Regions from separate parts of the Homo sapiens genome. Here regions 1, 3 and 4 are each linked to region 2. The links are contacts of gene promoters, found by promoter capture Hi-C in human tissues and cell types (Jung and others, 2019). All regions are on one chromosome and are shown on one strand. Each heading gives the region's core, a stretch centred on a gene start or on the middle of the fragment in contact. The rest is flanking DNA. Distances are from core to core; before and after follow the strand shown. Region 1 holds the start of LOC124900476 (endogenous retrovirus group K member 5 Gag polyprotein-like). Region 2 holds the start of MIF (macrophage migration inhibitory factor). Region 3 has its middle 15 kb from the start of PCAT14. Region 4 overlaps LOC105372957 (a long non-coding RNA gene).

Region 1 (3,214 bases), core at 94-2,593, 360 kb after region 2:
TTGGGGCACACCTGTGCTCTATGGTCTGCATGGAGGGGACCCTACCCTGAAGGGGTGGCCTGCCCCTCCACACCTCTGGGTGTTTCTCATCAGGTGGAATGAGAGACTTTACTTTTAGTTTGCCCCATTAACCCTGGCTTCTTCCGAGCGCCCAAGCTTACCACAAGGCTCACTGTAGACGTACTCGGGAATCTCTCGTTGACTTGTCCTCAATGACCACACTCGAGAGTCCCTTCACCCTAGAGAAAAGCATCCACGTTGGGCACCAGATGGAGTGGCCTGCGCCTCCACAGCTGTGGGCATTTCTCCTCAGGTGGAACGAGAGACTTGAGAAAAGAAAGACAACAGAGACAAAGTATAGAGAAAGAAAAGTGGGCCCAGGGGACCGGCGCTCAGCATATGGAGGACCCGCGCCGCACCGGTCTCTGAGTTCCCTCAGTATTTATTGATCATTATCTCTACCATCTCGGAGAGGGGGATGTGGCAGGACAATAGGGTAATAGTGGGGAGAGGGCCAGCAGGAAAACATGTGAACAAATGTCTCTGCATCATAAACAAGGTAAAGAAAAAAGTGCTGTGCTTTTGATGTGCATATACATAAACATCTCAATGCCTTAAAGAGCAGTATTGCCGCCAGCATGTCCCACCTCCAGCCCTAAGGCAGTTTTCTCCTATCTCAGTAGATGGCATATACAATCAGGCTTTACACCAAGACATTCCATTGCCCAGGGATGAGCAGGAGACAGATGCCTTCCTCTTATCTCAACTGCAAAGAGGCCTTCCTTCCTCTTTTACTAATCCTCAGCACAGACCCTTTACGGGTGTCGGGCCAGGGGACAGTCAGGTCTTTCCCTTCCCAAGAGGCCATATTTCAGACTGTCACATGGGGAGAAACCTTGGACAACACCTGGCTTTCCTAGGCAGAGGTCCCTGCGGCCTTCCGCAGTGTTTGTGTCCCTGCTTACTTGAGATTAGGGAGTGGTGATGACTCTTAACAAGCTTGCTGCCTTCAAGCATTTGTTTAACAAAGCACATCCTGCACAGCCCTGAATCCATTAAACCTTGAGTCAACACAGCACCTGTTTCTGTGAGCACAGGGTTGGGGCTAGGGTTACAGATTAACAGCATCTCAAAGCAGAAGAATTTTTCTTAGTACAGAACAAAATGGAGTCTCTTATGTCTATTTCTTTCTACATAGACACAGTAACAGTCTGATCTCTCTTTCTTTTCCCCACACTAGCCAAAGGCAGTCCTTGTCCCACAGGGGCCCAGGAAGAATGTCCTAGTAGATGGCAGTGGCAGAGGGAGGCCCTAGAGGTACAGCAGTGGAGGGGACATGAAGCTGCTCCTGAGCTGGACCTGGGCGTCCTCTAGTTCATCCCAGTGTGGGGTTTTGAACTGTGCACTCTGTCAGCAAAGAGAATTTGGAGACAAATAGAAGAGGGGCTCCAAGGTAGTGGGAGAAGCTCAAGTGAGCATTTACTCAACAGCCTCCACCACCAGAATCTTTCTCAGGGGCTGAAGATGTGGTGGGTGGCACACAGCGTCACACAGGACACACAGGTCCTGCGGAGGAGACGCGGTACCATGAGATACGAGGAAACACAGACGTCAGGAGAAGACAGTGGTGGAGAGCGAAGTGCTCCAGGCCAGAGCCTGTGGCCTCCAGCTCCCCTTACAACAGCCCCCAGAGGCCGCCCCCAGTTTGTGGGTAAGGAAGCTGAGGCCCGAAGACCTGAATCAGTGACCAGCAAACATCGAGGCAAATTTGAACAGAGGCTCAGCCTCAGTGGGCGGCTGCGAGCTGCTGAATTGTGACTGAAGTGGCACACAGGGACAGGGACGGTGCTCAGGGCCGGCCTCTCATAGGGCTTTTGAGCTGGGGCTCGATGGACCAAGTCTTGGCTCTGGGCTGGGCACACGGCTTTTTGGCAGGCATCTCACTTCTGGGTAGCCTGCCTGTGGCTCCATTCTAGCGACCAGGAGCCTGAGGCCCACAGAGCTTACGGAGCAGCCTGAGTTCTCAGGGCTGGGGAGAGTAGCCAGGGGCTCAGACCTCGCCGTGCCATGCTGGCCCGTCCACCATGCTGCCCTGTTCTCACACGGCCAAGTGCTCCCAGCACACAGGAGGAGTCCAGGCGGGAAAGGGATGGAGGATGAACGTGACCAGGCCTTGCCTTCGGAGGGGTGAAGGTCTTCCCAGTGTCCCCCAGCCCCCCTGCCCACTCCCAGAGGGACGGCCCTGCAAGCGGTGGCCACCAGGACCTTGCAGGGGGTGAGGGTCCAGGCTGCCGAGGAACCAAGGAGAGGCCGCCCTCGCTTCCCACATGCCCGGGCCCTGGGTCCCTCAGCCTCCCGCTGGCCTTGCCACCCAGCTCTCACAGACACTGGCTCAGGAGCAAGCAGGAGACCCCTGGGGTGACCTGCCAGACCTGCTGGGCCCAGGCTCAAACCCTGCAGCCACTCCCGGCCTGGCCACTCCACCATGTCTCCCAGCCCCATCTCCCTCTTGAGGGCCACGTCTCTGGGTTTTGTGAGGCTGAATTCTTCTCAGCTCTCAGGTGTTAAGACTGTCTCCTCAAAGAGGCCTTCCTGAGCCCCCGCTCCATGACTATCCTGCCAGCATTCTCTCTTCCTCGGGTGGCTGTGGGTTTGTTCCTGCCCAGGTGGAGTGGGCTACTTCCCGCCACGCTGTCCCTCTACCCTTAGGATCCAGGGCAGACCAGTGGGGGCGGGGGGAGTTTCGCCGCAGATGCTAGTGACTCCAGGGGACAACCCAGGTCCCTTCCCCTCTGGGGTGCTCTGAGTCCTGAATTGACTTGGAATGTCCAGGCCCAGCCCTGGCTCTGGGCCCTGCTAGATCACTGGTGGGTCTTCTCCAAGGAGCCAGGCCCCAGCCTAGGCCCACCCTTCCAGTGACGTGAACAAAGGGAGGGTGGGGGCTGCTGTCTGGAGCAGGCCTGGAAGGGGAGCCCACTGCTTAACCCTGACAGCCCCTGCCAGACTCCCCAGGATCCAGTAGTGGAGCAAGGGGGTGGGAGGGGGCAAGGGGTGGGAGGAGACCAGCTTAGGTGCTCAGTCCCTTGGTGGTCTGTGCCTCAGAGCCCCAGGGACACTTTTCCACCCCTCCCCCACCCCCCTTTCTCCTGCCCTTCCTCCCTCCCTTCTTCCTCCCTGTCCTGCCCTCTTCCTGCCCTTCCCTCCCTTGTCCCTC
Region 2 (3,259 bases), core at 596-3,095:
GGGCCTTGCTTTAGAGACCTTCATGGAAGGGGTGCCCCATCCCAAGATGGGTGCCACCCTTCCAGACTCCCTGGAGCTTCTATTCTCCTTCCTCTTCCTAATCTTCACCCCACCCAGCCCCATTGCTCTTCTGGAAGGAGAGCTCGCTGTCCAGTACTGCGCGGGATGACCGAGTGAACAGGGGACTGGAGACGAGATGTGGCTGGAGACTGAGAGAAGCAGAGGAGTCACACTCCACTCACCTCCACCTCCCAAAGTGCCGGGATCACAGGCTTGTGCCACTGCGCCCAAACATAACTGAAGGTTTTACAGACATGTCTGTGGCACCACAGAACACGAACGGTCCCAATGGAAACCCCACGCCCAATTTCCTCAGGGAACTGCTGTGGCGGAGGCTTGGTGGGTGTCTGAGGGGAGCAGAACCCAAGGCGTGGGGTTCGGGGGTGGACGGGGCGGTATGACCAAGAACTCTGCACCTCCCCCACCCACCCGCCTGAAAACTCTCCTGAAGTCACCTAACAAAGTGGATGGCAGTGAGTGGCTCTGGGTGGGATCTTTCTGTCCTCTGGCTACCCTCTGCCCAACAAGAAGGCTGGGGAAGGTGGGGCTGAGAGAAAGGTCTAGGCCTAGAAGACCTCGGACTCCTCCCAACTCCAACTCCTCCTCCCCCTCTTCCGTGGTCGGCTCACCTCCAGCACCCCACGTGGTGGCCCTAGGTACAACGGATTCCGGCGGGCAGAGCGCCTTAGATCCCGAGTCTGCAGCCCAGGGCAGAGTGCCAACTTCTCCTCATCCCTTCGTACGCCATAGAATGGAAAGACACTGGGGCTCCTCTGTTAGGAGCGTAGGAGGGACAGGCTGGACAAAAGGGCTCCCGAACAGCAGGTTCGGAGGAGAGCAACCCGGCCCTGACCCCCGCCCCCAACACCGTTCCCGACCTCGCTCCCCAATATCCCGGCTCTGCACCAATTCCTCCCGCAAGCCAAGGAACCCCGAGGCACTCCTAGTCTCTAAACCGTTTATTTCTCCCCACCAGAAGGTTGGGGTGGGCGGGCCTAGAACACAGCGTGCGGCGGGTTCCCGGGTGGAGCCAGCGCAGACAGCGTGGGTCCCTGCGGCTCTTAGGCGAAGGTGGAGTTGTTCCAGCCCACATTGGCCGCGTTCATGTCGTAATAGTTGATGTAGACCCTGCGGGGGGAGGAGGCCGGACTCAGCGGGTGGCTCAGTCCCGGGCCTGGCCGCGCGCCGCCGCCCCTCCCCCGCCCCTCCGCGACTCCGCGTACCTGTCCGGGCTGATGCGCAGGCGCTCGGCCAGCAGGCCGCACAGCAGCTTGCTGTAGGAGCGGTTCTGCGCGCCGCCGATCTTGCCGATGCTGTGCAGGCTGCAGAGCGCGCACGGCTCGCTGGAGCCGCCGAAGGCCATGAGCTGGTCCGGGACCACGTGCACCGCGATGTACTGCGAGGAAAGGGCGCGGTCAGCCCGCCCCAGCGACCTCGTCGGGCCCCGAACGTCCACTTCGGGCCCGAGCCACCGTCCTCCCCCCGCCCCGCCCCCCAGCTCCGTTCAGGAGTCGCCTCCCCAGCTCCCAGCGCGGAACCCCTCGTCCGGTGGGCACCCCCCTCTTCCTGTCCCCTCCCGGCAAACCTGGGGGGGCTTGCCGGTGGCCTGCGCCAGCTGCTGGGTGAGCTCGGAGAGGAACCCGTCCGGCACGGAGGCGCGGGGCACGTTGGTGTTTACGATGAACATCGGCATGATGGCAGAAGGACCAGGAGACCCGCGCAGAGGCACAGACGCACGCGCCGCGGCCGCCGCTGAGCTACGTGCCTGACTTCTCGGACACCACTGTGGTCCCGCCTTTTGTGACGCCACCGCCGGCGCCAGGCCCCGCCCCCGCGAGGCTGCGGCTCCGCCCCGAGTGGGGAAGTCACCGCCTGCCTCGGCTCGACCCCCGCAGGGCAGGACCCTGGGCGACTCCGCCCGTTCCTCCAGCAACCGCCGCTAAGCCCGGCGCACCGCTCCAACCTGTTCTCCACTTGGCGGCTAGAAATCGGCCTGTTCCGGCCTCGCCTCGGGTCTTTCTTAGTCCTTTCACTAAGTCACCGATGTTAGTCGCCAGGAGGCGCTGTGCCGGGGGTGGGGATGCGGCGGTGAACCCGGAAGATGGCCCCTTACCCTTCCAGAGATGAAGCCCAGTTCATTCCACTGCACGCACTGAGCCCCTGTACCTCCTGTCTTTGGGCCACATGTCCTCAAGGGCTCCAGTCCCGCATGCGTGAGCTTGTGTGTTTGAGATGGGGCGGGGTAGTCATCGCGGCAGGTGAGAGGGGAGCTGCCCCTGCGAATCACCATCCAGGGAACTTCCCTGAACCCCTGCTCTTTAAAGAGGATAGGATGCTGGGAGGCACCGAAGGGAAGGAGGCGAGGTCCAGAGCAGGTTCAGTGGTTCAAACGTGCTCAGCTCCCCTTCTCTGGGCCTCTGGGCAACTTCAGCTCCTCAGGGAAGCCACACCCTAGTCAGGTCCACCGTGTATGGCCTCTCATAGAGCCCTTGGTGAATTTCTTAAATGTCTTTTCCACTAATGGTAAACTCGGGGACCATCTAGCAGGTGCCAGGCATACAAGAGACATTGACTAATACTGCTGAATGAATGAATGAATGAATGGGTGAAAGAAGATAAGCCATGACATAGCAGGAAGAGGACAAGGCAGCAACTGGATCACAGGCCAGGTCCTCAGAGATTTCCAGGGAGGTCCTGTCCTTGGTCTCTGATAGGTGCAATCCATATACCAGTCTCAGTGAAGGCCATGTGATATAGGAAGGACACCCATGCCTGTGGGACCCTCGTGGCACCAGCCAGCCTCCAGCTGGGAGGCCCCATGGCCCATTTATACAAATAGCCTATGGGTATTGGTTCCTGCAGCTGGGCCCCAGACTCTTTCCCTCCTGGTGTCACACCTTCTCTTACCTGTGCCCAGGGCTCCCTAACTGATGGCACTCCATACCATGTCTCCAGCCAGGGGCACTCCCCTAAGTCCCAGGCGCTGACAGCAGCTGACTGAGTGTCCACTGCTCTGTAAAGTCCAAATGTATGACTTGTCCTCCTACACCTCATCACCTGCCAGTAAAATATGCTTCCTTTCACTATCCCTTTATTCCCACTTCTCTCCATTCCCTGAACTACCGCCTAGTCTACACTACCTGCATCCCCTTTGGCCTGGACCACTGTGACTTCCCTATGGTGGACTGCTGCTCCTCAA
Region 3 (3,076 bases), core at 47-2,546, 340 kb after region 2:
GAGCCACCGCACCTGGCCAGTACTGGTTATTTCAACGTCTTTCCTGTGGGCAGGCAAGCTCTGTGAGGCCACGGAGGGCATTTTCTCCATCTTGGGATTCATGGAGTCCAGGGTGGGGCATTTCCCAGGGTGGACCCCAGGTGGACAGGTCTGTGGGTGGCTTGGGCTCTGCTGCTCTGCCCCTTCCCTGGAAACTGTCCCCACTCTGAGTGCCTTTGCTGGCTGTGCTGTGGGGATAGGGCCTCATGTCCCTCGAGGGGGCTTCCATCTGGAGTGAACGGAGCCAGTGGGGCCCACAGGGTGAATGGGCAGTGCTGGGGGCAGATGTACAGTCAGGAGAGAGGGACTTTGACCTTCAGAACACCATCGGCAGAACTTGGGGCCTTTCCAAGGGGGGCTGCCTCCATTCCATCCCCCAAGGGCCTGCCCAGCATGGGGGGAGCAGGGCAGGGTGCCCGGGAGGCATGAGGACTGGCCCCAGCTGCAGCACTCGGCGAGAATCTCTTGAACTCTCGGCTGCACCGAAAGGCGAAGGCAGCGGGGCCCTGGAGATGGTCTCCATGACAACCGCTGCCACTCACTCCGCATCTTGGATGTAAATTAGTTACAATTTTATTAGTGTGCAGAATTTCAAGAGTCCAGATCCTGTCTTGGAAGGGAAAAGGAAGGTGGGGGGACAGAGGAGTTTCCGAAGCTTCACATCCCCACAGGGACCCCAAATCCAAGGTGGATCCATGGACAGTGAATTGGGCCATGCACCCTAATTCATCAGCCCTGGTCAGGCTCTCTGGAGAGAAGGAAACACATAGGACTGTTCCCGCTCTTCTGGCCACCTCCTCACAGCAGCCTGGGAGCACCCCCTCCCCAGTCGACAGGAAAGCAGCTGAAGGCCATGGGGGTCATTAGCTGGCACAAGGGCACCCACTCACCAGGAGCCAGACACTTGCTCTCCCACTCTGCCCAGCAGCCCTCCAAGGTTGGTTAAGGTTCACTGAAACACTGCTGGGCACCACATAACCAGGTGAGGACATCCCCAGGGGTTTGGGCGTCTGGACAAACACCAGGCCCTGCTTGCCAAGAGTCAGCATGTAGAGCTACTATCCTGTGGCTGGAGGTCGTGTGTTTGTCCCCTCTAGCACTGGGCAAATGAGGCTGGTGACACCCGAGTCACAGCAGCGTTTGATGCTCTGAATCATGTGTGCATATACACATGCACACACAGATTTTTCTCTAAGGAGGGAATAAAGGGACAGATTTGTCTCTTCCCTAAGGCCATTGTTAAAATTAGTTGTGTTCTCCCAAGGCGCAGCCCACCGTGTGTGTCCCTGAGGTGGCTCTACTCCCTCTGCTTTGGGGTGAGCCACAAGAGAGCAGGCCCCAATGAGGTCATGGGCCAGCAAGGCCACCAGAACTCCCCATCTGTGGCTGGCACTGAGGTGGACACTGAGAAGTTGGTACTGCAGAGGCAGGGCCAGGTGCAGGAGGAGAGGGTGTGGAGTGTATCAGGGCAGGTCCCACACAGGTGTGAGTCCCTGGGCCAACAAAGAGGAGAAAAAGCAGGCCTGGCTGAGAGAACAGCCTATATTAAGGCTTAGAGGCATGACAAAGCCTGAGTGAGGGCTTGGGGCATGGGAGGATAAGAGAATGAACAAGGAATAGAGGAGAATGAATGGAGACTGAAGGGAGATTGATGGGAAGGTGGATGGGAGGATGGATGGAAAAATTGTTGCAAGGGTGGATGGGAGGATGGATGAAAGGATGGATGGGAGGATGGGGGAGAATGGATGGAAAGATGGATGAGAGGATTGATGAGAAGATGGATGGGAAGATGGCTGAAGGATGGATGGAAAAATGGATGCAAGGATGAATGAAAGATGAATGGGTGGATGGATAGAAAGATGGATGGGAGGATGGGTGGGAGGAAAGATGAAGGATAGATGGGAAAATGGATGGGAGGATGCATGGGAGGATGGACAGAAGAATGGATAGGAGAATGGATGGAAAGATGGATGGGAGGATGGATGGGAGGATAGATGGAGGATAGATGGGAAGGTGGAGGGAGGTAGAAGAGAGGATGGATGGAGAATGAATGGAAGATTGATGGGAGAATGGATGAGAGGGTGGACAGAGGAATGGATGGAAGATAAATGGAAAGATGGATGGGAGCATTGATGAGAAAATTGACGAAAGGATGGATGAAAGGATGGATGGGAGGATAGAGGGAGAATGGATGAATGGGAGGATGGATGGAAAAATGAATGGGAGGATGAATGAAGGATGGATGGGTGGATGGATGGAAAGATGGATGGGAGGATGGATGACAGGATGAATGAAGGATAGATGAGAAAATGGATGGTAGAATGCATGGGAGGATAGACAGAGGAATGAATGGGAGGATGGATGAAAAGATGGATGGGAGGATGGATGTAAAGATGAATAAGAGGATGGATGACGGGATGAATGAAGGATAGATGGGAAAATGGATGGGAAGATGCAGGAGAGGATAGACAGAGGAATGAATGGGAGGATGGATGAAAAAGATGGATGGGAGGATGAATGAAGAATAAGATGGAGGGAGAATGGATGGGAAGATAAATGGAGAATGGATGGAAGATAGACGGTAGGGTGGATGGGAGGATGGATAGAGGGTGGACAGAGAAATAGAGGAAAGATGAATGGAAAGAAAGATGGGAGGATTGATGGGAGGGTGGATGGGTGGATGAATGGAAGATGGATGGAGGATGGATGAAAGATGGATGGAGAATGGCTGGGAGGATGGATGAAAAGATGAGTAGAGGATGAATGGGAGGGTGGTTGAAGGATGAAATGAAAGATGGATGGGAGGATGCATGGGAGGATCGACAAAAGGATGGGAGAATGGATGGAGGATGGAAGGAAAAAATGGATGAGAGGATGGATAGAGAATGGAGGGAGGATGGATGGGAAAGTGGAAAGAGAATGAATGGAGGATGAACAGAAGATGGATGAAGGATGGATGGAGGATTGCTGGAAGGATGGATGGAAAGATAGATGGAGAACAAAAGGGAGAATGGATGGGAGGATGGTGATGATGGAT
Region 4 (2,843 bases), core at 129-2,628, 320 kb after region 2:
AATCTCGGCTCACCGTAACTTCCGCCTGCCAGGTTCAACCGATTCTCCTGCCTCAGCCTCCCCAGAGTTGGAGATGGGGCCTGGTAGGAGGTGTTTGGTTGGTGGTGGATCCCTCATGACTTGGTGCCATCTTCCTGATACTGAGTGGGTTCTCGTGGGATCTGGTTGTTTAAAAGTGTGTGGCACCTCCCTGTCAACTCTCTCTTGCTCCCGCTCTGGCCGTGTGAGACACCTGTTCCCCCTTCACCTTCCGTCATTATTGGAAGCTTCCTGAGGCCTCCCCAGAAGCTGAGCAGATGCCAGCATGCTTCCTGTACAGCCTGCAGACCCGTGAGCCAATCAAACCTCTTTTCTTTATAAATTACCTGGTCTCAGGGTTTCTTCACAGAAATTCAAGAATGGACTGATACAGACATTAATCTTATTAGTAAGGGCAGAGCCTCTCACCTCTCCAATGCCACCACCTCATAATACCATCACATTGGAGATTAGGTTGCAACCTGAATTTTGGTGGGATGCAAGCATTCAGACCATAGTACCCTATCTCCAAATACAGACACATACTGACGAACTGGGGTTAGGACTTCAATGTATGAATTTGGAGGAGCACAATCCAGCCTGTAACATCTGTTTTGGCTTGGGCTCCCTGCAAGCAGGCCTCAAAGAAAGGCTGTTGTACTTGGAGCTTGTTTGGGACGAGTACTCCCAGAGGCAAGACTGAGGGATGGGGAGGGGGAGAGCAAAACAGGAGCAGCAAGAAAACCAATGCAAAGGCCAGGCACAGTGGTTCCGCCTGTAATCCCAGCACTTTGGGAGGCCGAGGTAGGTGGATCACTTGGATCAGGAGTTAAGAGACCAGCCTGGCTAACGTGGCAAAACCCCGTCTCTACTAAAGATACAAAAATTACCAGCCTGGCCAACATGGCGAAATCCCGTCTCTACTAAAAATACAAAAATTAGACGGGTGTGGTGGCGGGTGCCTGTAATCCCAGCTACTTGGGAGGCTGAGGCAGGAGAATCACTTGAATCTGGGAGATGGAGGTTTCAGTGAGCCGAGATCACACCACTGCGCTCCAGCCTGGGTGACAGAGCAAGACTGTCTCAAAAAAAAAAAAAAAAAAAAAAAAAGCCAATGCAAACGTACATTGCTGAGTTCACCATTATGGAAGCCGGGGTGCCAGATCCCGCAGGATCACCGGAGCTGCCTTACAAAATGCATCTCAGAACCATCCGCCAAGGGGAAGAAAGGAGAGAGCATTGCTTCCAGGGCTCTGCCGCCTTTGAGGAAACGCTGGCCTGTAGGGTGTTCATGCCTTTGCACTTGCAGTTGAGCGTGTGTAACTGCTGAGTGGGTTACTGTGGAGGGGTGGAGGTTGGGGGATCCCACACTGTGGCATCAGCAAAGCCCCGGACTGGAAGCGAGAGGCAAGCACAGGGGCCTAGGGCAGGCCATTGTCAGCTTTCTGCCACATGGAGCTTGTCACAGCCTGCGAGGTCTGTTTACTGCACCTGGGCCTGGATTAGGAGGTGAAGCCAAGAGGTCTGAAGCCATTCAGGCGAGCTGCTCAACACAGTGCCCACCTGGCAGCATTCAGCCCCGCCCCTGCCACCAACTGGGTCCACCCATCAGAGGCCCCTTTGAGGTGCTGGCATCTGCAGTACCTGCAAAGACTTCATGCTAGAAGGTGACCGAGAAGAGCTTAGAACCCACCCTGAGTGGAAACCCCTTTCTTTACATGTTAGTCCTGGTCCTTGGCAGAAAGACCCCAGTGTAACAGATGTAGTCACAGGTTTGAGTTCAATGAGATCCACGCTGTGTCCAGTGGAGCCCTCCTGTACTTCCCTTCTCCCCTGCCCCCTCTCCCCTCTCCCCTGTCCCAGATAGCTGGGGCCTCTCATCTGACAACCCTAAAGTTGCAGGGACAAGAAGCACAAATCCACAAGGACACTGGGGCATGGTGGGTGGGGGAGTGGGCAATCCTATTTTTTTTTTTTTTTTTTTGAGACAGAGTCTTGCTCTGTCACCCAGGCCGGACTGCAGTGGTGCTATCTCGGCTCACTGCAAGCTCCGCCTCCTGGGTTCACGCCATTCTCCTGCCTCAGCCTCCCAAGTAGCTGGGACTACAGGCACCCGCCACCACGCCCGGCTAATTTTTTGTATTTTTAGTAGAGACAGGGTTTCACCGTGTTAGCCAAGATGGTCTCATCTCCTGACCTCGTGATCTGCCCACCTCAGCCTCCCAAAGTGCTGGGATTACAGGCATGAGCCACCATGCCTGGCCGGGCAATCCTATTTCTACAACTTGTCCCTGGACCATGTGTTCCAGCTTCTGGGGATGCAGCACCTGGCACTGGCTGTTGGCTCTGTGCTCGGGGTGTAGCACAAGCTGGCTGCCCCTACGTTCCATCAGGCCCAGGCTCCAGGGTGAGACTGGTGGGCATCACGCTCATGTGCTCACTGGGATCCTCCCTCGCCATAAACTGTGTCCCTTGGTCTGGGGCCTGGGTGGGCAGGATCCCACATCTCCAGATGGGGCATTCAGAGCTGCATTCTGGATGCAGTGGAGGCATGGAGATCTGTCAGGCGGCGCAGAACTGCTGCCGTGGCTGGACTCTGAGGCGAGGACTAGAAGCACGAGGGTTATAGAAGAGGGGGATGCTGCTCACAGGGCTCAGTGTGCAGATACAGAGAGGGCTCAGCACAGGATCTAGCACAGTGGGTCTACCGAATTGCCACTATGCCCATTTTACAGATGGGAAGGCTGAGGCTCAGGGGAGGAGGCAGCTTGCCCAGGGGCCCAGTGCTAGCAGGCAGCAGAGCTGGGTTGGTGACCAGCCTTAAA

Evidence for each region. The method cuts DNA at HindIII sites, captures the fragments that hold promoters and counts their contacts. A contact is called where the count stands out against the background at its distance.
Region 1: a contact is called between a fragment that was not itself captured here and the fragment with the promoter of MIF in region 2, in 4 of the 25 tissues and cell types used here (bladder, dorsolateral prefrontal cortex, mesenchymal stem cells and 1 more).
Region 3: a contact is called between a fragment that was not itself captured here and the fragment with the promoter of MIF in region 2, in 1 of the 25 tissues and cell types used here (spleen).
Region 4: a contact is called between a fragment that was not itself captured here and the fragment with the promoter of MIF in region 2, in 1 of the 25 tissues and cell types used here (lymphoblastoid cells).

The regions. Positions count from the first base shown.
Region 1 is chr22:23,534,084-23,537,297 of GRCh38, reverse strand. It overlaps LOC124900476 (endogenous retrovirus group K member 5 Gag polyprotein-like), which reads right to left and starts at 417. Exons shown (of 2, transcript XM_047441690.1): 1 at 162-417. RefSeq lists enhancers at 231-847, 1,463-2,079, 2,080-2,695. The HindIII fragment of the contact is 4,075 bases long and covers 1-3,214 here.
Region 2 is chr22:23,892,969-23,896,227 of GRCh38, reverse strand. It overlaps MIF (macrophage migration inhibitory factor), which reads right to left and starts at 1,845. Exons shown (of 3, transcript NM_002415.2): 1 at 1,646-1,845; 2 at 1,284-1,456; 3 at 1,005-1,188. The coding sequence starts at 1,753. The coding sequence ends at 1,122. MIF-AS1 (MIF antisense RNA 1) reads left to right here. Exons shown (of 3, transcript NR_038911.1): 2 at 118-399; 3 at 696-2,518. RefSeq lists enhancers at 555-1,362, 1,363-2,170. The HindIII fragment of the contact is 32,419 bases long and covers 1-3,259 here.
Region 3 is chr22:23,551,598-23,554,673 of GRCh38, reverse strand. No RefSeq gene overlaps it. Among named protein-coding and RNA genes, the nearest start is that of PCAT14, 15 kb to the right of the region's middle. The HindIII fragment of the contact is 7,531 bases long and covers 1-3,076 here.
Region 4 is chr22:23,569,512-23,572,354 of GRCh38, reverse strand. The region is part of intron 2 of LOC105372957 (a long non-coding RNA gene); the gene reads right to left. Among named protein-coding and RNA genes, the nearest start is that of IGLL1, 9.4 kb to the left of the region's middle. The HindIII fragment of the contact is 9,559 bases long and covers 1-2,843 here.